Linked DNA regions of Homo sapiens: regions 1, 2, 3, 4, 5 and 6 are each linked to region 7. The links are contacts of gene promoters, found by promoter capture Hi-C in human tissues and cell types (Jung and others, 2019). All regions are on one chromosome and are shown on one strand. The core of a region is centred on a gene start or on the middle of the fragment in contact, and the rest is flanking DNA. Distances in the headings are between cores, read along the strand shown.

Evidence for each region. Contacts are between HindIII fragments. The study calls those that stand out against the background at their distance.
Region 1: a fragment that was not itself captured here is called in contact with the fragment with the promoter of TMEM44 in region 7 in 2 of the 25 tissues and cell types used here (bladder and spleen).
Region 2: a fragment that was not itself captured here is called in contact with the fragment with the promoter of TMEM44 in region 7 in 1 of the 25 tissues and cell types used here (spleen).
Region 3: a contact is called between the fragment with the promoter of ACAP2 here and the fragment with the promoter of TMEM44 in region 7, in 1 of the 25 tissues and cell types used here (IMR-90 fibroblasts).
Region 4: a fragment that was not itself captured here is called in contact with the fragment with the promoter of TMEM44 in region 7 in 5 of the 25 tissues and cell types used here (IMR-90 fibroblasts, dorsolateral prefrontal cortex, psoas muscle and 2 more).
Region 5: a contact is called between a fragment that was not itself captured here and the fragment with the promoter of TMEM44 in region 7, in 1 of the 25 tissues and cell types used here (spleen).
Region 6: a contact is called between a fragment that was not itself captured here and the fragment with the promoter of TMEM44 in region 7, in 2 of the 25 tissues and cell types used here (liver and spleen).

What each region holds. Positions count from the first base shown.
Region 1 is chr3:195,252,049-195,255,808 of GRCh38, forward strand. All of the region lies in intron 1 of XXYLT1 (xyloside xylosyltransferase 1), which reads right to left. Among named protein-coding and RNA genes, the nearest start is that of XXYLT1, 17 kb to the right of the region's middle. RefSeq lists enhancers at 667-716, 1,506-2,293. The HindIII fragment of the contact is 4,979 bases long and covers 1-3,760 here.
Region 2 is chr3:195,226,119-195,229,967 of GRCh38, forward strand. XXYLT1 (xyloside xylosyltransferase 1) reads right to left here. Exons shown (of 4, transcript NM_152531.5): 2 at 591-738. Among named protein-coding and RNA genes, the nearest start is that of XXYLT1, 43 kb to the right of the region's middle. RefSeq lists an enhancer at 258-852. The HindIII fragment of the contact is 8,654 bases long and covers 1-3,849 here.
Region 3 is chr3:195,441,637-195,445,020 of GRCh38, forward strand. ACAP2 (ArfGAP with coiled-coil, ankyrin repeat and PH domains 2) reads right to left here and starts at 1,384. Exons shown (of 23, transcript NM_012287.6): 1 at 1,159-1,384. The coding sequence starts at 1,211. RefSeq lists enhancers at 299-388, 928-1,427 and silencers at 839-888, 909-1,128, 1,249-1,748. The HindIII fragment of the contact is 9,168 bases long and covers 1-3,384 here.
Region 4 is chr3:195,152,711-195,156,543 of GRCh38, forward strand. It overlaps XXYLT1 (xyloside xylosyltransferase 1), which reads right to left. Exons shown (of 4, transcript NM_152531.5): 3 at 3,739-3,833. XXYLT1-AS2 (XXYLT1 antisense RNA 2) reads left to right here. Exons shown (of 2, transcript NR_102711.1): 2 at 1-146. Among named protein-coding and RNA genes, the nearest start is that of XXYLT1-AS2, 6.8 kb to the left of the region's middle. RefSeq lists enhancers at 1-493, 494-1,134, 2,572-2,711. The HindIII fragment of the contact is 7,618 bases long and covers 1-3,833 here.
Region 5 is chr3:195,366,819-195,370,564 of GRCh38, forward strand. All of the region lies in intron 4 of ACAP2 (ArfGAP with coiled-coil, ankyrin repeat and PH domains 2), which reads right to left. Among named protein-coding and RNA genes, the nearest start is that of ACAP2, 74 kb to the right of the region's middle. The HindIII fragment of the contact is 3,212 bases long and covers 1-3,088 here.
Region 6 is chr3:195,511,863-195,515,687 of GRCh38, forward strand. It overlaps PPP1R2 (protein phosphatase 1 regulatory inhibitor subunit 2), which reads right to left. Exons shown (of 6, transcript NM_006241.8): 6 at 2,566-3,825. Among named protein-coding and RNA genes, the nearest start is that of PPP1R2, 30 kb to the right of the region's middle. The HindIII fragment of the contact is 4,639 bases long and covers 1-3,825 here.
Region 7 is chr3:194,631,807-194,635,193 of GRCh38, forward strand. It overlaps TMEM44 (transmembrane protein 44), which reads right to left and starts at 1,613. Exons shown (of 10, transcript NM_001011655.3): 1 at 1,273-1,613. The coding sequence starts at 1,409. It overlaps TMEM44-AS2 (TMEM44 antisense RNA 2), which reads left to right and starts at 1,122. Exons shown (of 2, transcript NR_186047.1): 1 at 1,122-1,361. RefSeq lists a silencer at 1,382-1,811. The HindIII fragment of the contact is 16,299 bases long and covers 1-3,387 here.

The DNA.
Region 1 (3,760 bases), core at 493-2,992, 620 kb after region 7:
CCATGTATCAGCAAAGATAAATCTCAAAATCATAAGGCTATGAAATCTCATACTCACAATGAAATGTCAAATGGATATATGAGACTGTTTACATAACTGCTGAAAACATACAAAGCAGTAATACATATATATTTTATGCATACATATGTGGTAAAAATTAAAAACATACAAATTGCACAAAACACCAACTTCTTATTTGTGACAGTAAATACCTCTGGAGGGAGTAGGATGGAGAAGAAATAGAGTGAGCTTTAGCTACGTCTATAATATTTTATTTCCTTAAAAAAAGAATCTTAAGCAAATAGAGAAAAATGTTAGCACCTATTTAACTTACACAGTAGAAACAAAGATATCTGTTACTTTTTTTGTTTTCATTTTTCTGTTTTGGCTTATTTTAGAATTAAAATTTTTTAACATCTAAAAAATATATCGTGAGAGGCAAAAAGCGGGGCTGTGTAATATAAATTAGCAGGAAAAATTCTTTATAATGAAGAGGCAAGAGAGTGGGCACTGAGGAGCAGCCCTGATAGACCTGATCTTCACATGTGTTAATTTGTGGGAACAGGACCACATAGGACTGGGAAGTGTTTCTTGTGGAGAATCAAGGAAGGTTCCTGGGAACAATTCAAAAGAAGAAAAAAAACCACACACACACACACACACACACACACACACACACAGAGAGAGAGAGAGAGAGAGAGAGAGAGATTCACTGTGGTGTTATTTATTGTGTGAAAAAAACAGAAACTCACAGCTCAGGTTACAAAAGAAATATGACTATAACGTATGCTACAGTGATATGAACAATAAGCTGGAGACAGGGCAGGGGCGGCGAGGCGGGGAGGCGTTTATGGCATACGCCACCGCAGGTGGGTCCCCTATTCAGTAACGTGAGTAGAGAACAAAATTCCCCTGCTCTATCCAAATTAGGCCTGCAAGAAACAAGGGCTCAAGGGAACGTGGGAAAATGAAGACGGTTTGTTGAATGAGATTTACAGCTTTCCACTACCTGGAGAAGCAAGTCACAAAGGGCTCTCCGTGGAGCCCAGGCACTGCACCCCAGCTGCCCGCTTTTCTCCAAGCACTTTCTCCTGCCCTTTTCTTGGACCCTCCCTCTCCCCGGGGCCCAGGGAAGGCTGCCCTAAGCACTGACTCCTCTCCTGGGGCAGTGAGATTTCCCTCTCATATTTCCAGGCTGGAACAAATCCCCCAAAGACTCCCGTAAATCAGGTCCAGATGCTGCACATGTCACAGAAAAAGGCTGAGAAGTCAACAGCTCCAGAAATCAGGAGGCGAAGCGGCAAGATCCCGTTTCATTTCCCAAGGCCCCTGCTTAAGACACAGCCTTAAGCAAAAGACACGTTTTCATTTTGCATTTGCCTTAAAATGTCTCCCAACTCTCTGAGAGCCACATCAGTTCTAAAATCTTCAACTGCTCACATTTCTTTTTTTTTCTTTTTTTTTTTTTTTTTTGAGAAGGAGTTTTGTCTCCCAGGCTGGAGTGCAGTGTTGTGATTTTGGTTCACTGCAACCTCCGCCTCCTGGGTTCAGGCAATTCTCCTGCCTCAGCCTCTCGAGCAGCTGGGACTACAGGTGCCCACCACCACGCCTGGCCAATTTTTGTATTTTTAGTAGAGACGGGGTTTCACTATGTTGGCCAGGCTGGTCTCGAACTCCTGACCTCAGGTGATCCGCCCGCCTCGGCCTCCCAAAGTTCTAGGATTACAGGCGTGAGCCACCGCGCCCGGCCTGTTCACATTTCTGATCAAAGCGAAAGCCACTCAGTCACTCAGTGAGCCCAAAGAAGAGACCAGTAAGCAGGGCCAGCCTACCTGGCAGTTTACATCCTCTGCAAACGCTGCTCAGCAAATTCAACTATGTAGCCAATCACTCTTCCCTCAAGTGAGTTTTAAAGGGTAACACCAGAGGGAAACGGTGCTCTCGGACAAGTCACGGGGGTGCCCACTGCCCAGCTGTGCACCAGGGGGCACCCCCACTGGGGTGGGGAGATTTCCCTCTCACATTTCCAGGCTGGAACAAGTCCCCCAAAGACCCCCATAAATCAGGCCCCAGGGGGCCCTCAGCGCTTGGAGACTCTGGCCACAGACGTCAGCAGTGACTGCCCAGGCCTGGCAGGTTCTCCAGGGCCTCAGCCCCAGGGCCTGGGACCAAAGCCCCACCCTGCACTGACCACAGGTTAAATTTGCCCTGAAACTGGGGTCAGCAGCAGAAACAACACGCCCCTCACCCTCCCAACCACAGGACGCAGGCTCGAAGCCTGACGAGGTGATTTTCAAAGTACCATCTGCTCCTGGGAAGCCATTCCCTGAGCCGGAAGCTTGTTCCTTTTCCCCTGTGAGGAAACTGGGGGCCACATGGCATCACACAGAGCCCTCTGCAGGCTCAGTCACCCTCTCACTCTTGCTCAGCACGTCCACGGGGCATAATTAAGTCTGTAGGCTGCGGGATCTCTGTGCCAAAACTGCTCTTTTGTTTCCCAAGGTGAAGCATCTGGAACCTGGGCATCCAGGCAACAGGCTCGCAAGGCCCAGATTCAGGGGCAGCCACCTGCGCCAGGCTGGGACCTGACACAGGGTGAGCAGGTGAGCCACTGAGCAGGACCATGAGGTGGCATGCTAAAGCTGGGCACAGCCACCAAGGGTGGGACACAGACCTGCAGGGCCTTCACGGGGCCAGGGCAGTGCCTAAGGGTCCACCTAGCACGCGTCAAGCACAAACAGCTGCGCTGTGCACATTCAGTCACTTAACGTCGCCCTCACACCAATGTTTTGGGGCAGGTGATAGGACTGGGCCCCTGCTACAGAGAGGAGGTGGTTCAGAGAATGTAAACAACTACCCCCCACCTCCCAGAAAGATGAGGTAGAGCCAGGATCTAAAGCGGCCCATCTGTAGCCAACACCATACTCATTCAAGAGACACACGCCCATTCCCACACCCGCTGCACAGGAAAGAGAAAGAAGTCAGACTCGGACCCTGTCCCCAACTGCCCCAGGCTGGGAAATTCACCAGCACTGCGGACAGAGCAGGGGATAACAGCAGCATCAGAAAGACCCATAAGGCCATAGGTTTGCAGAGGGAATGCAGTCCCTCAGCAAGGAGCTTCAGTCGGACTAAACCAGCAGAAAAGGCGGTTTCCGAGTACCATGCTCGCACAACAGGGAGCCGCCGACCAGGCCTGGAGATCCCTGTGACAGTCACGGCAGGACTGGGGCTGCAGGAGTGCAGAGCCAGGTGGGAGACAGCAGCGGGGTTCCCTACCCCACACGGCTCGCACCCACGAGCTCAGCCCCCAGCAGGACCCAGTCGGGCTGGGGACTCAGCTCCATCCAAGTGGGCTGAGCAGGGCCAGGCAATGGGTTGGAGGGAGCCATGACTCTGGGCCTGCAGCTGAGGAGGCTGCAAAGCTTCCTTCTGGAGCAGCCGATCAGTGGACGTGGAGCAAAGCCTTTCATTGTCCACAAAACACAGACGACTGCAGGGAGTCACAAGTGGGTGAGATCCAAAAGCTGTGTCAGGCTAGAAACCAAAACAGAAGACAAACCGGCGCACAGAGCAAGCACAGCGTAGAACTGGCTTCCGAACACAAGGGAAGGCAGGCAGGGAGACCATGAGTGCAGGGAACCAGAGAGGGCACAGGAGAGCTGCTCCCAGTCTCCCTTGTCCACTGAGCAGCTGTGTGGCCCTGAGCAAGTTGCTTGGCCTCTCTGGGCCCCCGTTTTCTCATGGATAACATGAATAG
Region 2 (3,849 bases), core at 624-3,123, 590 kb after region 7:
TTCCAGTCCAAGCATGACCAGACCTGCCAGAAATTCCACATAAGCTGGACCTATCACACACTGGATGATGCATCTCTCTTTCCTGGAGACAGACGCCCAGAAAATCCTTCTAATTGCGCATCAGAGTTTCTTCAGAAGTTCTACATGGTCGTAATTTGCACCTCTCACATCTAGATTTGCTATTTTAAAATCAGATAAATACAGATTCAAACTAGAAAGAACAAGAGCATAAATTTGGATGGAGGATCATCTAATCCAACCCACCATTTTTCAGATGAGCAAACAAAGTATGGGGGTTGAGCAGTGGGGAAAGAAGGGGGCGAGTGCAAGGGGCAGAGTCCAGACCAGAGCCCAGAGACCCCCTGTGTCCTCATAAATGGACCCCGGGAGCTATGCAACCAAGGCCCTGCCCTTGATTCTTGGTGTAGGAAGCTCGGTGGTACAAAGGGCTTGGTCTGGCTCCCTCGTCCACTCTTTCATGTTCAGTGGAGCTATTCTCCCTGATACAGGGCCTGGGCAGTGTTGGAACCAGGGAAATGGATGCAAAAGTCAGACACCCAGGGGCTATTGCTCCTGGAAGCCCAGGTTACCTTTGGGCATGATCTGATGCATGGCGACCGAGAGGAAGAAGATGGAGTCACTGTAGTAGGTTCCCAAGCCAGCACTGAAGTGCTTCTGCATGGCCTCCACGATGGGGAAGAGCTTATCCGTCAGCACAGCAACATCGTGGAAGATGACCTGCAGCAGGTGCAAAAAAAACCAAGGCTCAGCAAACCAGTTCTCACTGCAAGCTCAACACCCAACAAGCACCTGGGCCCACAGAGGCAGAGGCAGACAGTGCCTCTCCAGGGTCCACAAGCAGGGGATGGGGCTAGGGGTAGCAACGGAGAGTTAAGGAAACGAGAAACAACCAGGAGTCAGAATTGAGGCCGCACTAAGGAGATGGGGACACTGTGTGAGGGGTGGCATGCAGGCATGCATGTACGGGCTGTGCAGTGGAAGAGAAGTGGGAGGACAGGAAATGGAAACAGCCCCTAGTCTGCTTCCTGCTTTTGAACATGAAGCTGGGCCCCCCTGAAGGTAGCTCTGTGCCCAGCGACTGGAAACCACGTGAGAGTGTGTGATCCTCATCACATTGCATGGCTAACACTGCTCCAGGCATCGCCACCTCCTGGTGGCCACTGCATCTGTTCCATAGGCCAGTCCGATGCTCCAGCTCTACCTCCCTCATCCAACAGTGTGAACAAGGAGAGGGTCTGGCCACTGGAAAATGGAACCCGGAAACTGCTCTGTGCTGCAGTAAACTCACACTCAACTAGCATTTCTTGAGTATCACTGACACTCTGGAGGCACTGTGAGAAGTATAAGGAATAACCAGGTACACTTTCCTCAAAGCACTTAGAAGTCCAGAGGTATAATCAGCTACGGCAGAGCTTTGCAATTTATGAAACACTCTCACATACCCACACTGATCCCCACGACAACCTAGGGCTTCTGTGAGGCAGACATCACTATTATAGCCTCCAAATTACAAATAAGGACGCAGACACTCAGACAGGTTACACTTGCAGCAAGTCACACAGATAATAAATGCAGAGTCAGAACTTGACCCTGGCCTCCAGATTCTCAGCCCCACACTCTTTCCACCATAAACGCATCCTCATTCCTTAACAGCAACCAACAAAGGATGAAGACATCAGCTCAACCCGCGATTAGAGCAGACAAGAGTACTAACGCGATCCTGAGTTGGGTTTCCTTGTCTAACTCTACTCCAGAAGATGAGAAGTATGGCCCATGCGCAGCCCCAGCTTCACATGTGATACCAGATGACCATGTACTGGTCCCACAGGTCTTGCAAGTTTTTCCTGTTGTTCCATGTGCCCCCACAGGATCTAGATCCTTCTACGACACACAGGAGGCACTCAAGCCAGAAGGCTGGGTGTTCCTCCACCTTCTTCCTCAGTGCTCCTAAGAGTTCTGCAAGCGCCACCTCCCGCCACCATCTTCTCTGGTATGTGACAGGACAAGCCTGCCACACTGCATCCTAGCTGCTCAATCACCACCTCATCAACTCCGAAGAGCCCACCTGAACAGGTGCCAGCAGCAAAAGGCAAAGCCACGTGAACCCCTGACTGCCCTGTTTACACTGTCACTTGCCCTGCCAGACAGTGGCAAGTGGTGCCCTTGAAGCTCTCCAATAGGCGGGCTCCACTCCATCACTCACCTTTCCCCTTTCCCTCCACCTGCCCTTCCAGTCTCAGGGTGCTGCCTGCACTACCTGCACTTCCAGAGCCATCGGTGGTCGTGGCCCTGTAAACCACCGTCTGCTCTTCCCTACTGTTGGTTCTGCTTTTGGCCTATATTTCACTTTTTTTTTTTTTTTTTTTTTTGAGATGGAGTCTCACTCTGTCAACCGAGGCTGGAGTACAGGGGTGCAATCTGGGCTCACTGACACCGCCTCCCGGGTTCAAGCGATTCTCCTGCCTCAGCCTCCCAAGTATCTGGGACTACAGACGCCCGCCACCACCCCCAGCTAATTTTTTGTATTTTTAGTAGAGATGGGGTTTCACCATGTTAGCCAGGATGGTCTCGATCTCCTGACCTCGTGATGCGCCCGCCTCGGCCTCCCAAAGTGCTGGGATTACAGGCATGATCCACCACACCCGGCCTATTTCCCTTATTTCTTCTATATGTATCTCTTTTTTTTTTTCGAGACAGAGTTTCACTCTTGTTGCCCAGGCTGGAGTGCAGTGGCGTGATCTCGGCTCACTGTAACCTCTGCTTCCCAGGTTCAAGTGATTCTCCTGCCTGAGCCTCCCAAATAGCTGGGATTACAGGCGCCCACCACCATGCCTGGCTAATTCTTCTACTTTTAGTAGAGACAGGGTTTCACCATGTTGGCTAGGCTGGTCTCGAACTCCTGACCTCAGGTGATCCACCCACCTCAGCCTCCCAAAGTGTTGGATTACAGGTATGAGCCACCGCGCCCGGCCTGTATCTCTTACATAGCTTATTTCTCTTATATTTCTTTTTAACCTATATCTCTCTTAGTTCACCTTTCCTTTTATTCTTGGGTCTCTTTTAATTTCTAAAACACTATTAAATTTAGAAAAACTTTGTTACTATTTTTTTATTTTTAATTTTTGTGGATAGAGTATGTATATATATTTATGGAGTATATGAGATATTTTCATACAAGCATACAATGCATAATAATCATATCAAGGTAAATGAGGTATCCATCACCTCAAGCATTTATCCTTTGTGTTACAAACAATCCAATTATTTTAGTTATTTGAAAATGTGTAATTAAACTACTTTTTACTGTAGTCATCCTATTGTGCTAGCAAATACTAGGTCTTACTCACCCTTTGCCAATATTTTTTGTATCCATTAACCATCTCCTCCTCCCCCAACTCACTCCACTACTTTTCCCAGCCTCTGATAACCATCATTCTAATCTCCATCTCCACGAGTTTAACTGTTTTAATTTCTACCTCCCACAAATAAGAACATGCAAAGTTTGTCTTTCTGTGCCTGGCTTATGCCACTTAACAAAACGATCTCCGGTTCCATCACTGTTGTTGCAAATGACAGGATCTCATTCTTATTTATGGCTGAATAGTACTCCATTTTGTATATGTACTGTTTTCTTTTTCCATTCATCAGCTGATGGAACCTTAGGCTGCTTCCAAATCCCAGCTATTGTGAATAGTGCTGCAATAAACATGGGGGTGCAGATATGTCTTCGATATACTTAATTCCTTTCTTTTGGGTATATATCTAGCAGTGGGATTGCAGGATCATATGCTAGCTCTATTTTCAGTTTTTTGAGGAACCGCCAATCTG
Region 3 (3,384 bases), core at 134-2,633, 810 kb after region 7:
CCAGGCTTGGCCCAGACATTAGCGGGCACACACACGCCAGTGCTCAGAGGAAGCTTCAAGAAATGTCACTATCTAACGGAAGTGTTAAGGCCTTATATTTGTAAGGACTATGACCAGCCCTGTAAATAAATACACTGTAAAACGCAACCTAGAAAAACTCCATTGTCCAAAACAACTCAAGACTTTCCTACTATCCTCAAAACAGAAAGAACCTGTGTCCTGGACGGCCTCAGGACGACCGCCTCTCACATAGAAAGAAGGGCAACCCATGTGAATCGGAGTGCCCCCATGTCAACTCTGTGACAGATCCACTGGGAGCATCCGACTGTGATCCGGGCCCTCCTGGGCAGAGGCTGCTGGAAGAGGAACACACAGGCAATCTTCACGGCCCTCCTACTTCCGTTCTCAAAACAGAAATGCACTTTTCTGCTAGTCCTCCGCCCTCAGCCCGGTACCTCTCGACAGCTGTGCCCCCTTCAACGAGCTTAAGTGGAAAGAAAAGCAGGTAGTCACCAACTAGGGTCCACGGAATGCGGTTGATCACAGCGCTTCCCCCCGCGATTCCCGCACGCATCCACCGCGGGCGCCCTCCGGAGAGTCGCTCTGGCCGGGGGCACCGCGAAGCAGAAGTCGGCGTCCCAGTTCGCCCCCTACTCTCTCCTCCCCGGGGAAGGGGGGCAGAAAAGCGCAAAGAGGAACTAAATGAACTGCAAGAGGATGCCCTGAAAGCTCCCTCAAAGAGGGGGTGGGGAGGGGGTGGAAACCAAGAAGGGGCGGAAGGAAGGGGGAAGGAAGAGCAGCCAGAGGAGGAAGGGGGCGAGAGCGAGCGCCCGCGAAGGGGACGGGACTTCGGGAGCGCGGCTGCACCCCATTTCCCCCAGCGGGAGAGGGTGCGCCGGCCTTCGGGGCGCTCCGCCCCGGCAGAGGGCAAGGAAAGAAATGAGAGGCGACGTCCCCGTCCCCGCCACTTCGTCGCCCCTCGGGAGGGCTCGGTGGGGACTGCAGTGCCCTCGCAGGGTGGGAAACGGCGGCAACAGCCGCTCGCCCCGTCGGAAGGAGCGGACGGCGGGGCCTCCTCCGGGTGCGCGGGCCCGGCTTTCACGCCCCCAGCGCCGGGAAGGCAGCTCCGCGGTGACGCCGGGCGGCCGTGCCGGTTACCTGAAGCGGGGCGAGTCCTTCAGACACTCCTCGAAATCCACAGTCATCTTCATCCTGCCTCCGCCTCGCAGGCGGCGCTGGCAAAGCCGAGGGGGCCGCGGGAGCGGCCGCGCTGGGACGCAGACGGCTACGGCGGGCGCACGGCCGCGACTAGCGTTGCGCGGAGCTGCGAAGGGCGCCTCGCCCGCTGGTCATAGCAGCCGCGAAGACGGCGACGACTAGTCAGGCCCCAGTCCCGCCCCTCTTCCTCCCGCCCCAAGTAGAGCGCTGGCCGCAGGGAAACGGCCGGGGAGTGACAGCAGCGGCCAGCCAGCCACGAACCTGGCGGCCAAGGGGCGGGGCATCCGGCAGCACCGCCTGCGGGCGCCCGGGCAACGGGTCTGAGCGACGGCAACCCGAGCCAATGAGCAGCGCGACCGTGGGCACCTCCTTGCCACAACCGCCCCCGAGGGCCAACCGGGATGCGCGGGCGTCGCTAGGCGGGACGCACCGGTTGCTGGGAGGCCGGCAGCTGAGGTTCCTTGGGAAGGAAGTCACGTGGCTGCGGCCGCGCTTCCCTCCGAGCCCCCGCCTCTTCTCCTGCTCCCCGAGCCCCGCCCTGCTGAGCTGCCAGCCCAGAGGAGCAGTCTCCTGCAGGTCTGAGGAAGGAAATTTGCTTTTCAAAGCAGATTGGCAGAAATCTGAAGAGGTTAGAGGCAGAAATTATAAAAGGAAGAGATAGGCTAAGCCACCTATTCCTTTCAGTTTAGAGAAACTGAGGCCAGAAGAGGAGCGAGGATAACTTTAGTGATAAAATCCATCTTTCATGTATTTGTTCCATAGCTTCATAATCTGGAAATTGCTCCCATGTACATCTTCTCATATAGCCAGAGACCACTTCCTGAAGGAGCTGCCGTTTGGGTTGGACATAGAAAGATTTAGGCAGGTATGGGAGGTAGGGTGCTTCGTGTGGAGGAACTCCTCTCAAAACTGCCGAAAGCATTCCCCCTCACTGACACTTTGCTCCTGGTGGTTTTCACTGTTCTGCCATGGTGGGGTTCTGAAGACCAGGCTCATCGTACTCACCTTGCAACACCTGCCCCTCTAATCCACACTTTTTCTAGAAGCACTTTAAGATACTTATCATCTGATCCTCACGGCAGGTATTTACCATACTCCTTCATTTTAAGATGCCATTGATTGTAAAAAGTACAAAGATGTCTTATATGTAATGAGTAATTTTTAAGCCAACCTAAAAAACACGGGCGTATCTATAAAAATGAATATACAGGGTGTTCTAACAGCATAGTGGCTCTGAGTGAGAATCTGGAGGCAAACTTCCTGGATTTAGGTCCCAGCTTTCTCACTTTAAAATGAACATAACACACAGATCTGATGAAGTTGTCCGGTTAACACAGTGCCACATATCGATCATTCAGTAAATGTTGGCTATTTTAATTGTACCATTTGCCTCTTCAGTACTATAATCAAAGGGCTTAAGTCTAAGTTCTCTCACTTTCACTGTCTGAAGTTTTTGTTTGTCTCAAAAACAATCAAACAATTTCGTTCCGTTCCCCAGGCTGGTCTCAAACTCATGGCCTCAAGTGATCCTTCTGTCTCAGCCTCCCAAAATGCTGAGATTACAGGTGTGAGCCACACACCCAGCCTTCTAAAGTCTTAATATAACTTTCTGACCGTCTGGCTAAGTATAGCGTGATGACATACTGTTTTTCGTAACCCATCAAGAGATATCTTGATCTCTTTAGCATCTTTAGAAATTAACAGTATAGACAGGGCATGGTGGCTCACACCTGTAATCCCAGCACTTTGGGAGGCCGAGGTGAGCAGATTCCTTGCTCCAGGAGTTCCAGACCAGCCTGGGCAACATGGTGAAATCCTGTCTCTACAACTCTACAAAAATATACAAAAAATTAGCCAGGCACATGCCTATAGTCCCAGTTACTCATGAGGCTGAGGTGGAAGGGTCACTTAAGCCTAGGAAGTCAAGACTGCAGTGAGCCATGATTGTGCCACTGCACTCCAGCCTGGGTAGACAGAGCAAAACACTGTATCAAAAGAAAAAAAAAGGAAAAAGGAAAATTAACAGTATAATTCTGAGGCATTTCAGAGAATATAGAAGCATTATATTCATTTATTCTTTGCTTATAAACTTGATTTCTTTTTTAATTGTGTATTCCTGGAAACCACACAGCTTTTCTTGATAGCTAAAAACAGACTATTGACTGT
Region 4 (3,833 bases), core at 1,126-3,625, 520 kb after region 7:
CTGCCATAAAAATGACTTAAAATGTGCCCTTTTGAGGTAAAGTAACTATGGGACAAGTGACTATAAAAATGACACAGCTGGGGAGATCCAAATCTATTCCTGCTCAGCAAGTTTCCAGATTAAAATGTGTCTGCTTACCTAGTCAAGATTTGGTTTTGTGCTGTTTTGTGTTTAAATTTTCCTTTCATATAGATGCTAGCATGTTCTTCTTAAAATAAAACACTTGTCCACCTCACTCCCCTCTCTGGGGAGACCCCTTGGTGGTCAGAGCCCACTGCCAGTTCCATGGAAGTCCCAGGCAGGGGCAAGAGGGGACCTCTGTGGGAAGCAGTCTGACGGCCGCAGCAATGGCCAAGCCCAAGGGCCGAGACCGCCTGCTCAAGAGAAAGGCGGGCTGCGCTGTCCCTGCTTCCTCTCTCCCCTTCCATTCCCATCCTCTTCCTTCTCTCAGCCTCCCCACCCTAGCCCCACTGCCAGCCAGGTGAACACTCCAAAGCAGCAGATAATTAATGCCGGATCTCCCAGGTCCCCAGAGGTCCCCAGTCTTCTTGTGAAAGAAGGCAAAAAACATGCTCAATTCCTTGTCGGCCAGCCAGTACCAAGCCATTCCCAGCCCCAGCATGAGACTGCAAACGTTACAAGGCAATTCCCCAGAGCCAGCGGGGCACGCGGCAGGCAGTGCAGGGCTGTCATCTGCAGACTCCATTATTAAAGGTCTCTGGAAACATTTCAGCTGAGGGGTGGAGGGAGGGAGCATGAAAAGGAGTATAAGTCTCTGTTGATTTTTGAGTGCCCAGGCCCTGCAAACGCCATTCTTCAGACTCTGCTGCAGCGGAGGTCTCATGGTTATCATAGTACATAATGAAAATTAAAGATGCTCAGGGTTAGAAAAACTCAGTTTCATTTCGAATCTAAAATCTTTCAGAGCTTTCTTTCAGGAAGTCCAGATAATTAAACTGATTTTAAGTTGCACTGTTTATAAAATCCTAGATCTACAGAAAATACAAATTCTGGCCAATCCTGTCTAAGCACGATGGGTTTCCAAGTTTCCATTTATATCACATGAGAAGATTCCAAAGCAGGCCTTGAAGGCATTGGCGCTGTAACTGCATTTAATACTTAGCCCAGTTTAAACACCCCATGACGTCAGTTCTCCCCGATCCCTGAAGAGCTCACCAGCAGACAGGCAACTTCCAGACGGAGGGAGGACAATGAGGGTCCGAAGGGCTGTAACCCCCAATGCCAGAGCCGGGGAGCGGGGACTTAGAGCTCAGCTCTTCTCCTTCTCAGGTGGGGGAACAAAGGCCCCAAGGTGGCAGAGCTGGGACTAGTATCTAGGGCTTGGGACTCTGAGGCTCCCTGTATTGTTACAGTAGGTAGCTAGTCAGACATGAGCAGGGCAGGAGAGGGCTCCACCACCACCAGGAATGTCAGGCGACCATCAGCTGATGGTCAGGCAGTTGTCAACCGTCTCTCTAAAATGATAATTGGATGCAGCCAGCGCCAGGGAAAGGGAGGGTCCCAGTAGATAGAAAGAACCTGGAACTGACGACCAGCAGCTTCCTGGTAAGATTTCAGGAGTTGGGCACGTGGGCTCAAGCATGTGCACTAGGAGGCAAAACGGTGGCACTAGGAGGCATGTGCACTAGGAGGCAAAACCCTCCTCTAGGAAGGCTGGACTGGTAAGGGAAGAAACCAGGAAATAAATCACAGAAACAAACCATCTGGTAAAGAAAACACAAAGAGGAATGAAGATTAAGGGAGGGAGAGAGGGAGGGAGGGGAAATGCTCTTTAATGAGGGTCTCTCTCGCAACAGAAACTTCCACTGTTACTTCATTTGAGTTCTCCAGGGAGCGCGTGCACAACCTCGGTAAACACACTGCGCTCCCTCCCAAGGGCTTGCAGGCCACCCTCAGGGAAGAACCGGGGGAGGAGTAACGCAAACCCCAGAACCACGCCAATGTACAAAACCCCAAGTCAAAAGTCACACAGCACGTTTGATCTCCAAGTCACCCACTGGCCCTCTCCCAAGTGTACTTTATTTCCTTTCATTCCGGTCTAAAGCTTTTTAATAAACTTTCTCTCCTGCTCTAAAACTTGCCTTGGTCTCTCACTCTGCCTGAGGCCCCTCAAATTCTTTCTTCTGAAGAGGCAGGAAGTGAGGGTGCTACGGACCCATATGGATTCACTGCTGCGACCACTATCACCTCCCTCTGTTGGACCAAGGACCCCAGCAGATCTTCCTGGTATGAAGGGGAGGGAAGAAGGTGGGGAGTCTTCTACAGTTAAGATGGCAGGTGTCTGCCCAAACCCTCTCAAGTCGCCAACCCCTGACCTCAGAGGAAGAGGCCTACCCAGTGACTCTGGGGCCACACGTGAGAGGATTATATAAGGGAGAAAAGTCCACACGGCCCAAGGAGTTATCAGCTCATTTAGGGGCCTTGCAGGAATTTCCTGTTATGTGATCTGGGTCATGCAAATAGCCACAACCGAGCTGAAGCTGCCTCTTCACCCCCTCTTTCTGAGGGGAAACACAGGCTCTTGACTCACTAGTTGCCTGTACTCTGCAGCTCTCCAACGACTGGGCCTCCCTCCAGGAAGGTCGGCAGGGAGCCAGCATCACGGTGTGCACTGAGAACAAAGAGCGGGGCATGCCTGCGGGACAGCAAAATCCCAGCCCTTTCCGAACAAACTCGGCAGCTCTGCTCTGGGTGTGCTATCGCTCTACCCGCTGGAGAAACAGCCAGCAACATGAAACTCTCCAGGCCCAGGGCCACAGGCCTGGTTTATTGTAATCAAAACCCGCTTCAGCTGTTCCTTTCCTTTTTTTTTTTTTTAATTACAAGATGTAGAACAAGAACACACAAAAAAGTGCATGCAAACATGAAGCTAAGCTAAGTGGGGAACTGAGACCTTGCAGCTCTCCAGAGCCAACCCACCCCCACGCCCCCCACCGCCTGCCACGCCGGCTTTGGGAAGCATCACCCCCCTTCTCCTTTCCCATTCTCCGCACCTGCACATGTGCATCCCTAAAGGTTCCAGTTTGGTTTCGCTCTCGTCGCATGGAGCCGTTCCCTTTTTTGCTGTTGCTGTATAGCACTCAACTGAATGAATGCGTTTTATTTATCCATTCTGCTAAGTAGCAAATTTGAGTCGTTTTCAGTTTTGGCTACTACAAATAACGCTACAGTGAATATTCCAGAATGGTTCTCAGTCCTGGAGTTTCTCCATGACACAGGCTTGACAATCAAATGCAGCATCATGCGGAATGCGCTTCTTCGTGCTGACTACTGATGCCAGTCTGTGTTCTGACGTCTTCCCTCCCTACAAGACCACCAATCCACCCACTCTGCTAATAGAGAATGGGGGTCACTGGTGACTCACAGGCCAAGAAAGCCCAGCTGGTCAGTAGAAGGGAAGTTAAATCTTCCTCCGTAAGGCAAAGCCCAAGATTTTAAAATTCTGAGCTTAACCAGATCCAACAACCAGAACAACTGGGCTTTTCAGAAGAAAAAGGCCACAAACTCCAACAAAATAATGAGGTAGCACCTACGGCTTGGGATAGACCCACCTGCCCATACAATCAACTGTAAGCAATAAGTACCAATGTGTTCCCAAGATACTAAGTGCAGAAGGATCGGACGCCACTAAATCCCAATCTGTCACGGCTGGCAGAAGAGAGAGGGTGAAGGGTGGGGAGGGGTCGTGGAGGCGGCCCCCCTGCAGTCATGACGCACCTGTAAACTGGCTGCATCTCCCGGGCTATGCCGATGATGGCGCCTGGCAGGAAACTGTCAAATTCCTCAAACAACTCCCGGATGTTGGTCTTAAA
Region 5 (3,746 bases), core at 233-2,732, 730 kb after region 7:
CATGGCAGATACAGTCTCCGTAAATGGGAAAAATGAAGGAGTCCTTTACAACAGTCATCAGGACACTCTTTCCGCCAAGGGCTAGATATAATAAGCATTGAAGCTTGTGGGCCATGAGGCCTCTATCACACTACTCAACCCTGCTGCTGTGGTGTAAAAGTAGCCATAGACAATACAGAAACAGAAGAGCATAGCTGTGTTCCAGTAAAAACTTATATGCCCCCCAACCCCGCCAAAAAAAAAAAAAAAAAAACGGCAATGGGCTGGATATGGCCTGCAACGCATGGTTTGCCAAACTGTGCTCTCAAACAGTGGTTTTCAAATGTTAGAATACATCAGAAACACCTGGAAGGCTTGTTCAAACACAGATTGCTAGCTCCCAGACACAGCTCCTAATTCAGCAGATCTAGGGTGGGCTCTGAGAATCTACAGTTCTAACAAGTTCCCAGATGGTGCTGATGCTGCTGGTCCAGGGACCACTCATTAAGAATCAGTTATCTCAAACTTTACTAGTGGTTCTCAAACTTTACTGCAATGTCAGGATCACCTGGGGAGATTTTTTCAATTATATGCTACACTTCAAATGACATAAATAAAACTCTGGGGGAATGGGGATTAGTTGACTATTGTCAAGCTTCCTAACACTGAGTCCTGGCACACAGATCAGGTATTGAAAGGCAACCTATATATATGACCACCATCAATTCCTCCCATCCCTGCAGGTGCGTGCCACTCTCCCACTCACACGGTAGAGTTGATTTTCCTTACCCTGAATCTGGGGTGGCTCTGAGTCTTGCTTTGATCAAAAGAATGCAGAAGTGATGCGATGTGACTTGTAGGCCCAGGCTTTAAGGGACCATGTACCCACTGATTTCACATTCGTGAAGGCCAACTATCACATTAAGAAGTCTGACTAGCCTGCTGGGGAGAGAGGCCAAATGTAGAGAGAGAAGTCCTAGAAGATGAGAGACTCCAAAGGGTGAAAGAAGCTCAGCCAACACCAGTCATTCCAGCCACTCCAGCTAAGGTAGCAGACATGCTGAATCCTTCAGCCACAGTCAAGCCACCCAGCCAGCACCAACTAGAGCAGAAGTAAGCTGATCCCTCCAAGCCCCACTTGGTGGCTGTTTTAAGTCACAAAGTTTTGGGGCAGTTGTTAAACAGTCAAAGTTACTGACAAGATGTTGGTAGCCGTATTTAAGATATTGATGTTTATAAGTTTTTATAGTGATTTTTAAAGCTGCAAACTACTTGGTATAATTCAGAATCTACAACTGCTAAAATTACATTTTGGTACTATTTGTATGCCTGTCTGTTAACTCTCTGGTTTTTTGTTTGTTTCTGTTTCTGAGACCAAGTCTCTCTCTGTCACCCAGACTGGAGCGCAGTGGCTCGATCTCAGCTCACTGCAACCTTCGCCTCCCGGGTTCAAGCGATTCTTCTGCCTCAGCCTCCCAAGTAGCTGGGATTACCGGCATGCACCACTATGCCTGGCTAATTTTTGTATTTTTAATAGAGACGGGGTTTCACCATGTTGGCCAGACTGGTCTCAAACTCCTGACCTCAAATGATCCACCCATCTCTGCCTCCCATAGTGCTGGGATGACAGGCGTTATCCCAGCCACTGTTTGTTAAATTTCTGAATGTAGTAATTACTACTTTGCCAAAGCTATATTAATTCTTCCTCCTGCATTCCCATTTGAATCATCCAAAACTATATTTTACCACAATTTGTGTTATCATTTCATGTTATTTTTCATATTTTTCCTACTAATCATGAAATTACATATCGTTGTTTCCATAGCATCATCATTTAGTATTACAGATTCTTATTAGAATATAATTGTTTTTGTTATTTTTCAGCTGTTACTTCTTCATTTTTATTTATCATTGGCTTTTGGTGTTAATTAGCTAAAGTGTGACTTGATGAAATTTCATTTATAGTAACTCCTAACCATAAAAATCATTTCTAAAGAAGAAATCGGCAGAGCACAGTGGCTCACGCCTGTAATCCCACCACTTTGAGAGGCCAAGGCGGGTGAATCACCTGAGGTCAGGAGTTCAAGACCAGCCTGGCCAACATGGCGAAACCCTATCTCTACTAAAAATACAAAAATTAGCTGGGCATGGCGGTGGGTGCCTGTAGTCCCAGCTACTTGGGGGGCTGAGGCGGGAGAATCACTTGAACCTGGGAGGCGGAGGTTGCAGTGAGCTGAGATCGTGCCACTGCACTCCAGCCTGGGCAACAAGAGCAGAACTATGTCTCAAAAACAAACAAAAAAAAAAAAAAGAGGAAGAAATTAAGTGTACATAATTAAAACTTATTTTAAATAAATTGTAGGCCTTTAGAGATTCAAAAACATTTTTTTAAATCTGATTTTCTGATCATACGTAATATTTATGACACTGACTAAAATGAATTATTGTTTTGTTTACTAAATGCTTAATTTTTTATTTAGCTTTTATTTTAGGTTCAGTGGTACATGTGCAGGTTATATAGGTAAACTCTTATCATGGGGGTTTGATGTACAGATTGTTTCATCACCCAGGTAACAAGCCTAGTACTTGATAAGTTATTTTTTTCCGATCCTCTCCCTCCTCCCACCCTCCACCCTCAAGGGCTTCAGGGACAGTTATTCCCCTCTTTGTGTCCACATGTTCTCATTATTTAGTTCTCACCTACAAGTGAGAACATGTGGTATTTGGTTTTCTGTTCCTATGTTAGTTTGGATAATGGCTTCCAGCTCCATCCATGTTCCTACAGGACATGATCTCATTTTTATGGCTGCACAGTATTCCACAGTACATATGTATCACATTTTCTTTATCCAATCTGTCATTAATGGGCATTTAGGTTGAATCTATGTTTTTGCTATTGTGAACAGTGCTGCAATGAACACTCGTGTGCATGTGTCTCTATGGTAGAATGATTTTTATTCCTCTGGGTATATACCTTGTAATGGGATTGCTGGGTCAAATGGTAGTTCTGCTTTTCGGTCTTTGAGAAATCACCACACTGCTTTCCACAATGGTTGAACCAATTTACACTTCCATCAGCAGTGTATAAGCAAGCATTCCCTTTTCTCCACAACCTTGGCAGCATGTGTTTTTTACTTTTTATTAATACCTATTCTGACTGGTGTGAGATGGAATCTCATTGTGGTTTTGAGTTGCATTTCTCTAATTATTAGTGATACTCAACATTTCTTCACAGGCTTCTTGGCTGTGTATGTCTTCTTTTGAAGTGTCTGTTCATGTCCTTTGCCCACTTTTTAACTGGGTTGTTTTTTGCTTGTTAATTTGTTTAAGTTCCTTACAGATTCTGGATATTAGAGCATTGTCGGATGAGTAGTTTGCAAATATTTTCTCCCACTGTAGGTTGTCTGTTTACTCTGTTGACAGTTTCTTTTACTGTGCAGAAGCTCTTTAAGGTCCCAATTGTCAATTTTTGCTTTTGTTGCAATTGCTTTTGGCATCTTTGTCATGAAATCTTTGCCAGGGCCTATGTCATGAATGGTATTTCCTAGATTTTCTTCCAGGGTTTTTACAGTTTTGGGTTTTACACTCGAGTCTTTAATCCATCTTGAGTTGATTTTTGTATACAGTATAAGGAAGGGGTCCAGTTTCAATCTTCTGCACACGGCTAGCCAGTTATCTCAGCACCATTTACTGAATAGGGAAGTCCTTTCCCTCATTACTTGTTTCTGTCAGCTTTGTTGAAGATCAGATGGTTGTAGGTGTGCGGC
Region 6 (3,825 bases), core at 355-2,854, 880 kb after region 7:
TTCTCACACTGCTATAAAGAACTACCTGAGACTGGGTTATTTATTTAAAAAAGAGGTTGAATTAATTCACAGTTCCACAGGCTTAACAAGAAGCATGACTGGGAGGCCTCAGGAAACCTACAATCATGGTGGAAGGCAAAGGGGAAGTAGGGACATCTTCACATGTGGCAGGAGAGAGAGAGAAAAGGAGTAAGTGCTACACACTTTTAAACAACTAACTCTCCTGAGAACTCACTCCTCATCACAAGAACAACAAGGGGGAAATCTACCCCCATGATCCAATCACCTCCTATTGGGTCCCTCCCCAACAATGGGGATTACAATTCAATGTGAGGTTTGGGTGGGGACACAGAGCCAAACCAAACATATCGGAGATCTTCATTTGGTACGAAGAAAATCCACATAAAACTCTGATAAATGGCAGTGGCTTGCTAGCCCAGCCTTCTCAGTCTCACCTACCAGAAAGGCCTCCTGAGAATGGCTGCAGAGGGTGAATGTCTTCTTACTCCTTCCTTGTTCTTGCAAAGCAGCGCTCCCTCTCTGCTCTGCACACCTAAGCTTGAAACTCTTTAAAGGCAGGGAAATAATCTTATGTGTGTATTTCCCAATTTAGCTTGGCACAGTGCCCTATGATAAAATGCTTATTTTTCAATTGAGAGTGTCTTTTACATAGGAAGATAAAAACATAGAATTCTGACGCTAAGTAATTGCTTATACAGGGATACTTCCAAGACCAAGAAGCCTAACTAAACGAGAATGTAACTAAACTTTGCTTCCTATGTTCATTTCATTAGTCTATTATTGGTAACACTTTTTCAGACTGAACCATTAGAACAAGGCATACTGAAAAGCTGCTTATAATCCTCTTTGCTTAATAAGTGAGGTCAAATGATATTAAGATATAAAAGATTAGCCTGCAGAATCCTCTTCTAGTTCTAGTCAACACTGTCATCAATCCACACACAATTAAACAGATAGGAGCAATTTATAGGCGTTATCTTCCAGTTGCAACAATTCCCATTGGTAATAGAACTGAAATGCCGAACACTTGGCAGACTTTACTGAAAAAAATTTCAGGTTGGGCAGTTGAGATAAAATCATGACTAAACACTTGCCAAATGCATCCTCACTCACCTACTCTCAGCGTTACCTCCCCCAATAATTCCTCAAATCAAAAACCTGATGAGTCGAATCCCAAAACCACTTTGCTGGAGTAACCAAGTTTGGGGGTATGAGCCACAGACCAGAGACACTTGTTATCTGCTCTTCTATTTTCTTGACGGGTAGCAGACGTGCTCTTGTCAACCAACTATGCAAAGAGTGGACAGCGAGTGTAAGACATTCCAAAAATCTGCTTGAGCAGCAGGTCTTTGGAATACTAGTCTATCAGTACAAAACCACTGCAGCTTATAACCAACCACAACTACACATTAATCTGTCCTGAATATATATTTTGCAGTTTCTTGCATAAGTTACCAAAAAGTAAAATCTTATGTTTGGCAAGTTGTATCCGATCCATCAATACCCTGCAGTTATTGCTACCATGTCTTCCTTCTTTCACTGATAAACCATTCTCTTCCTCTTTTAGGAGAAAGTCCAAGTTTGATATATGAGAGACCCTGGCCTATTGCCCTACTTGGGATGTTATTTGATGGACAAAATGGGGTGGTTACAGTGAGATATGTTTGAAAAAGGTAAAACTAAGTTTTAAATAGGTTCCTATAAGCAGGACTGCTCAGACTCCTTATTATGATAATAATGTACATAAGTCTCCAAGAGGCTGGGGAATAAAGTACACAGTATGTGCGAGGCTTGTTTATTGCCTCATTTTCACGGAGCATGGTGTGGGATAAGGGTTTCATGGAACACACTGGGCAATCCTGTGTTGGGTACATGTTGGCTTTTATAGGCTGACACGGTCCTTGACTTGTTAAGATGGATTGTATGAAAAAAATCACGTTCTGAGCTTGAAACAGCCTGCTAAGAAACAAACTTGCAAAACACAACCAAATGACATGCATTCATCTCCAGCCACTGGCTATTTGTGCTTTTGAGCGATTTTTCCTAGATGGCACACAAACTGCAAACAAAATTAAGTTATTTCCAATTTTTCAGATTTTAAAAAACCCCAGAAGCTCAAACACCTGAAAAATGCTACTCCTAAAGCATAGTTATGGATCAATAATCCATATACATTTATTTGTAAGGTACAATTTCTAAAATGTTTTCTACATCAAAAAATGTATGAATAAAGACCATGAAATTTAGTTAGGTTTGGATTTAAATCCTATCATTTAGCATGTGTGAGGCACTGAAATGATTAATAAATAAGTTGACCAAGAGCACTTTCCTCACTTACAAAGTGTAGATAAGAATGCTTGCCTTTGTGTGGTGGTTTTGAGGGTTAGATGTAAGGGACTGAGCACAATGCTACTAAGACTGAGGAAACTACTCGGCCACAGCGTAATCCATGATCCACTCCTGGTATCCAGGGCAAGTGGTCGATGGATTATGGTCTTGAGATAGCTAAGTAACAATAAAATAAAATCCACACACAGGCAATTGTCATATTATTGTATTTTATTACAGTACGTGTAGTGTATACTAACTGAAAGGGAAAAATGTAAACAAAACCAAAGTCATGGGGAAAATGGCATCTTGCTTTAATCTTCAACTGAAAGTTACCTTAACAATCCATTTACACCATTATGTCAAATTTTAGTCATCTCTGCAGAATTTTAGACAAATGAAAACAGACAAGGTAACACCAAATAGTTAAGCACAGAAAGTGATACTGATTAAAAAGTTGAAAGTAAAATCTACCTTGGCTAGAACTGAACATTCAGATCTGTCTCTCCAGAGGAAAATCTAACTTGAATCATAATGGTTCATATTTTGACTAGTTCATACCCTATCAATTACCTACTTATGACTTGAACATACCTTTTCTCAGCTGCATGTGACAGCCTAAAACCCCACTGAGCATGCTGCTTGGCATGCCTTACTCCTCTGAAATCATCATCTACTTTCTAAAAACCAGAAAATGAGTTTGTGATTTAAATTTCAAAAAATAGTTTGTAGAAAACACAAAAAGAATCAACTGTTTAAAGTCTTATCCTTTTCTTCACTCTATGACAGCTACTTCTACAAAAAAAAAAAAAGAGTATGTGGGTACTTTCTAAGAACTCAGAAACAAGAAAACCAAAATCAGAGGGTGCATGAATATATGTGCACGCACATGTACAGACTTAATCTCTACATCCCCCAAGACAGATTTAAACAGGTAATCCCAACATTTTAAATTCAGAAACCAGAGACAAACAGTTTTGTTTCTAAATCAGTGGTATTCCTAGCTGAAATGTTTAGAATACTGCACTCACAGTTCAGCAGTACTTTGATTATATATCTCATTCAAAAAATCAAAATAATGGCCACATTCTTCTAACAGCAAGGAATTCTCCCACTTTTTATTTATTTTCAAATACTGCTGTTTCCATAAACCTGCAAGTGGAAGATAAGCTGTTCAATAAAAGCCTTCTTTCATATATGTATCTATATATAAAATATACAGACGTTATTTTAGAAGTCTGTTCATATAACAGATTATTTTGGTACTAACAAAAGTTGTACACAATTCATCAATTGTATGGCTAGAAATGAAACCATAACTAAACCAAGACACACAGGGCTTTCCTGCACTTGGTTGAAGGAAAAAATTCCACCTAATTCTTACTGCGTTAGAAGAATAAAGCACGTTTGTCATAGTACACATTATCGTAGTCCCTTAAAGCAGGGACTATTTAACAATGTCCAGGCTTACTTCTG
Region 7 (3,387 bases), core at 363-2,862:
AAAGGGGAGCAGGGGAGGTTCAGGGATGGCAAGGCCCTGAAAACAAATGGGTATGTCCAGATCCCAGGCAGGGTGAGAAGCAGAGGCTCACTCTTAACCCCTCCAAGGTTGGCAAAGTGCCTAACAGTGCTGGTCTGAGGACAACTGTGAGGAACAAAAGGATAATGCGTGTCCAGCGCCTTGTTAGTTTCCAGCCTCTGATCTGAACAGTTTAATCTCTCTTACCAGCCTGCCCCTTTCCAATAGGATCTGGGGTTTTGGTTCTTTCCTTTCACTCAGACAAGTTATTTAACCTCTCAGAACCTCAGGGTTCCCTACAGAAAGTGGGGGTAACAGCACCTACCTCCTGGTGCTGATATTGTGAGTGGCAGGCATTGAATGAGTTAATGAATGCAACACTGGGCCTACAGTAAATGTTCTAGGCGTCTTTTTATTTGTATTGCAGTACTGGGTAGTGGGGCTGCAGAATCTCTGCAATACGACCAAACGCCTTAGGAGAATATCCACTGAGTGCCTACAGGGAGACAGTTCTAACCTCTCCCAGGGGTGCTGGTCCTTTCTCCCCTGCCAGGGAATGCTTGGGCGGCACCATCCTGAGCACTGCTAGTGGATTTCCATGCCTAGGACAGAGCGGCTGAGGACCTGGAGATTCACTCTTAGAACTTAGGCTACCGTGGGCATCTGGACAAACCAGTCCAGGTGCTGGACAGACCAGGGCAAAGACAGGCCAGCTGGATCATATCACTACCTCCCTTCCCACCTAAGAGGACTTTGGGTAAACTGAGGCCAGAAACATCAAGGGACTTGCCAAGGTCCTAAGAGTTGGTGGCCTAGCTGGAGCAATACAAATGATGTTTAATGAGCATTTACTAAGTGCTTTAACGGTACTGATTCATCGAATCCTCCCATCATCCTATGAGGTATTATCTCCGGTCATAGGAGGCCCAGAGAGGTTCTGGAGCTTGCCCAGGTCACACTGCGAGTCAATGGCGAAGGGCTGACAATAGCACCCAGGGCTCGCGGTGTCCTCGGGGCCCCATCCGCTGCACCACCCAGCCTCCTCCCTTTGGCTCACAGCCCAGCTTCCCTGTGCGTGGGATCCGGAAAGAAGATCCCACTTCAGTCTACAGAGCAATGTTCCATTGGATCCTATTACTGAGCCATCTCCTTCATCCCCCTTTCCGCCCCCTCCTCTAGGTTTCCGAGAGGGAGCAGCAGGGGATTGGCGCCCGTTTCCCCGCCCGACAGCCCCCCGACCCGTGGCCCCATTACAGCGCGTGGGCGGCGATCCAGCAGGAGGAGGCGCAGATCCACAGGCCGAAGGAGATGCAGACGCGGTGGCGGGCGAAGCAGCGGTCCAGGTAGTCCCAGTCCCAGAGCGCGGGCGCGGGGCTGGGCGCCTCCCCCATGGCGCGGCTGGGCGCGCGGCGCGGGGCCGGGGACCTGGGCGCAGCCTCCCTCGCCGCGGGCAAGCCCCGAGCGCCGCCGCCCCGCGTGCCCTTCTCTGGGTTCCGTTCCGCCGCGGCGCCTCCGGCCGAGCGCACCGACCGCGGGCAGAGAAGGGCGCGCTCCCGGGCGCGGGCGGCGGCGGCGAAGGCGCCGGGGAAAAGTTTCCGGGACCGCGCGCTCCCCACCCCTCGCGCTATTGTCGGGGGTCGGCAGGGCGGAGGCCGCCCCCCAGCGGCGGGAGCCGGGAGCTGCGCGCGCACAAAGACTGCGGCCCCCGCCCCCCGCCGACCTCTTCGCGGTCACCCACCTCCAACATCCTGGCCGGAGCGGGGCGGGCGGCTGGGCTCGCGGACGGCCGAGTCCCTGCCGGTCGCTGTAAGGCACGGCGTCCCTTCCTGCGTATTGTCCACATTTCCTGAGCCAACAGCAATTAGTTGCGCTGCTGAAGCGCATGGGTGCTGGGATCCCGAGGTGAAGGGGGCGTGGTCCTGATCGCCGACAGGGCGCAGTAAAAAGGGTGGGGTGCAAGACCAGGAAGGAGGAAACAAACGTGCCGGAGAACAAATACCCCCACATCTGCCTCTCACTCTCCTTTCTGAAGCTGCCAACGGCACCCTCCGCCCCCAGGCAGTCGCCCAAGCCCTGCTCCTGGATGTCATCCTAGCCCACGGCCCCGCAGCCAAGAGCTGGTTATCTCTGCAACCGGCCGCCTCCTGTCCAGCCACACACCGCACAGTTCAAGTACACAGGGCTGTTTTTCTTGAGAGTAAACTATTATTGTAATTTTTAAATCTCCTTATTGATTTTAGTAGGTTTGTTTAAAGCAAGACATGACTTGAAAACAATATTTCTATAGAAGGAGCAGGATTGAAAAAAAGAAAAAAAATCTTTTTTAATTTTCAAAAACTACAGCTTTATTTAGATATTATTTATATGCCATAAGCATAGTCTTTTTTTTTTTTTTTTTTTTTGAGACAGAGTCTCACTCTGTTGCCCAGGCTGGAATGCAATGGTGCGATCTCAGCTCCCTGCAGCCTCCGCCTCCCAGGTTCAAGCAATTCTCCTGCCTCCGCCTCCCAAGTAGCTGGGACTACAGGTGCCCGCCACCACACCCGAGTAATTTTTGTATTTTTAGTAGAGACGGTGTTTCACCATGTTGGCCAGGCTGGTCTTAAACTCCTGACCTCGTGATCTGCCCTCCTCAGCCTCTTAAAGTGCTGGGATTACAGGTGTGAGCCACCACATCCAGCCTACATAGTACTTTTAAAATGTACAATTCTGGCCAGGCACGGTGGCTCACAACTGTAGTCCCTGCACTTTGGGAGGCTGAGGCAGGCGGATCACTTGAGGTCAGGAGCTCAAGACCGGCCTGGCCAACATGGTGAAACACTGTCTCTACTAAAAATACAAAAATTAGCCGGGCATGGTGGTGCGCGCCTGTAATCCCAGCACTTTGGGAGGCCGAGGCAGGTGGATCACTTGAGGTCAGGAGTTTGAGACCACCCTGGCCAACATGGTGAAACCCCATCTCTACTAAAAACACAAAAATTAGCCAGGCATGATGGCAGGCGCCTGTAATCCCAGCTACTCGGGAGACTGAGGCAGGAGAACTGCTTGAACCTGGGAGGCGGAGATTGCTGTGAGCTGAGATGGCGCCACTGCACTCCAGCCTGGGCGACAGAGCAAGACTCCATCTCAAAACAAAACAAAAAATAAAATGTACAATTCAGCAGTTTTTAGTGTATCCATAGCGTTGTGCAACCAACATCACTGTCTACTTTTAGAACATTTTCATCACCCCCATCTGAAAAGAACCCGGCCCACTGGCAGTTACTGTCCACTCCCCTCAACACTCGCAGCCCAGGAATCGCAAATCTACCTTCTGTCTCTATGGATTTGCCCATTTTGGACATTCCACATCAATGGAATCATCCACTA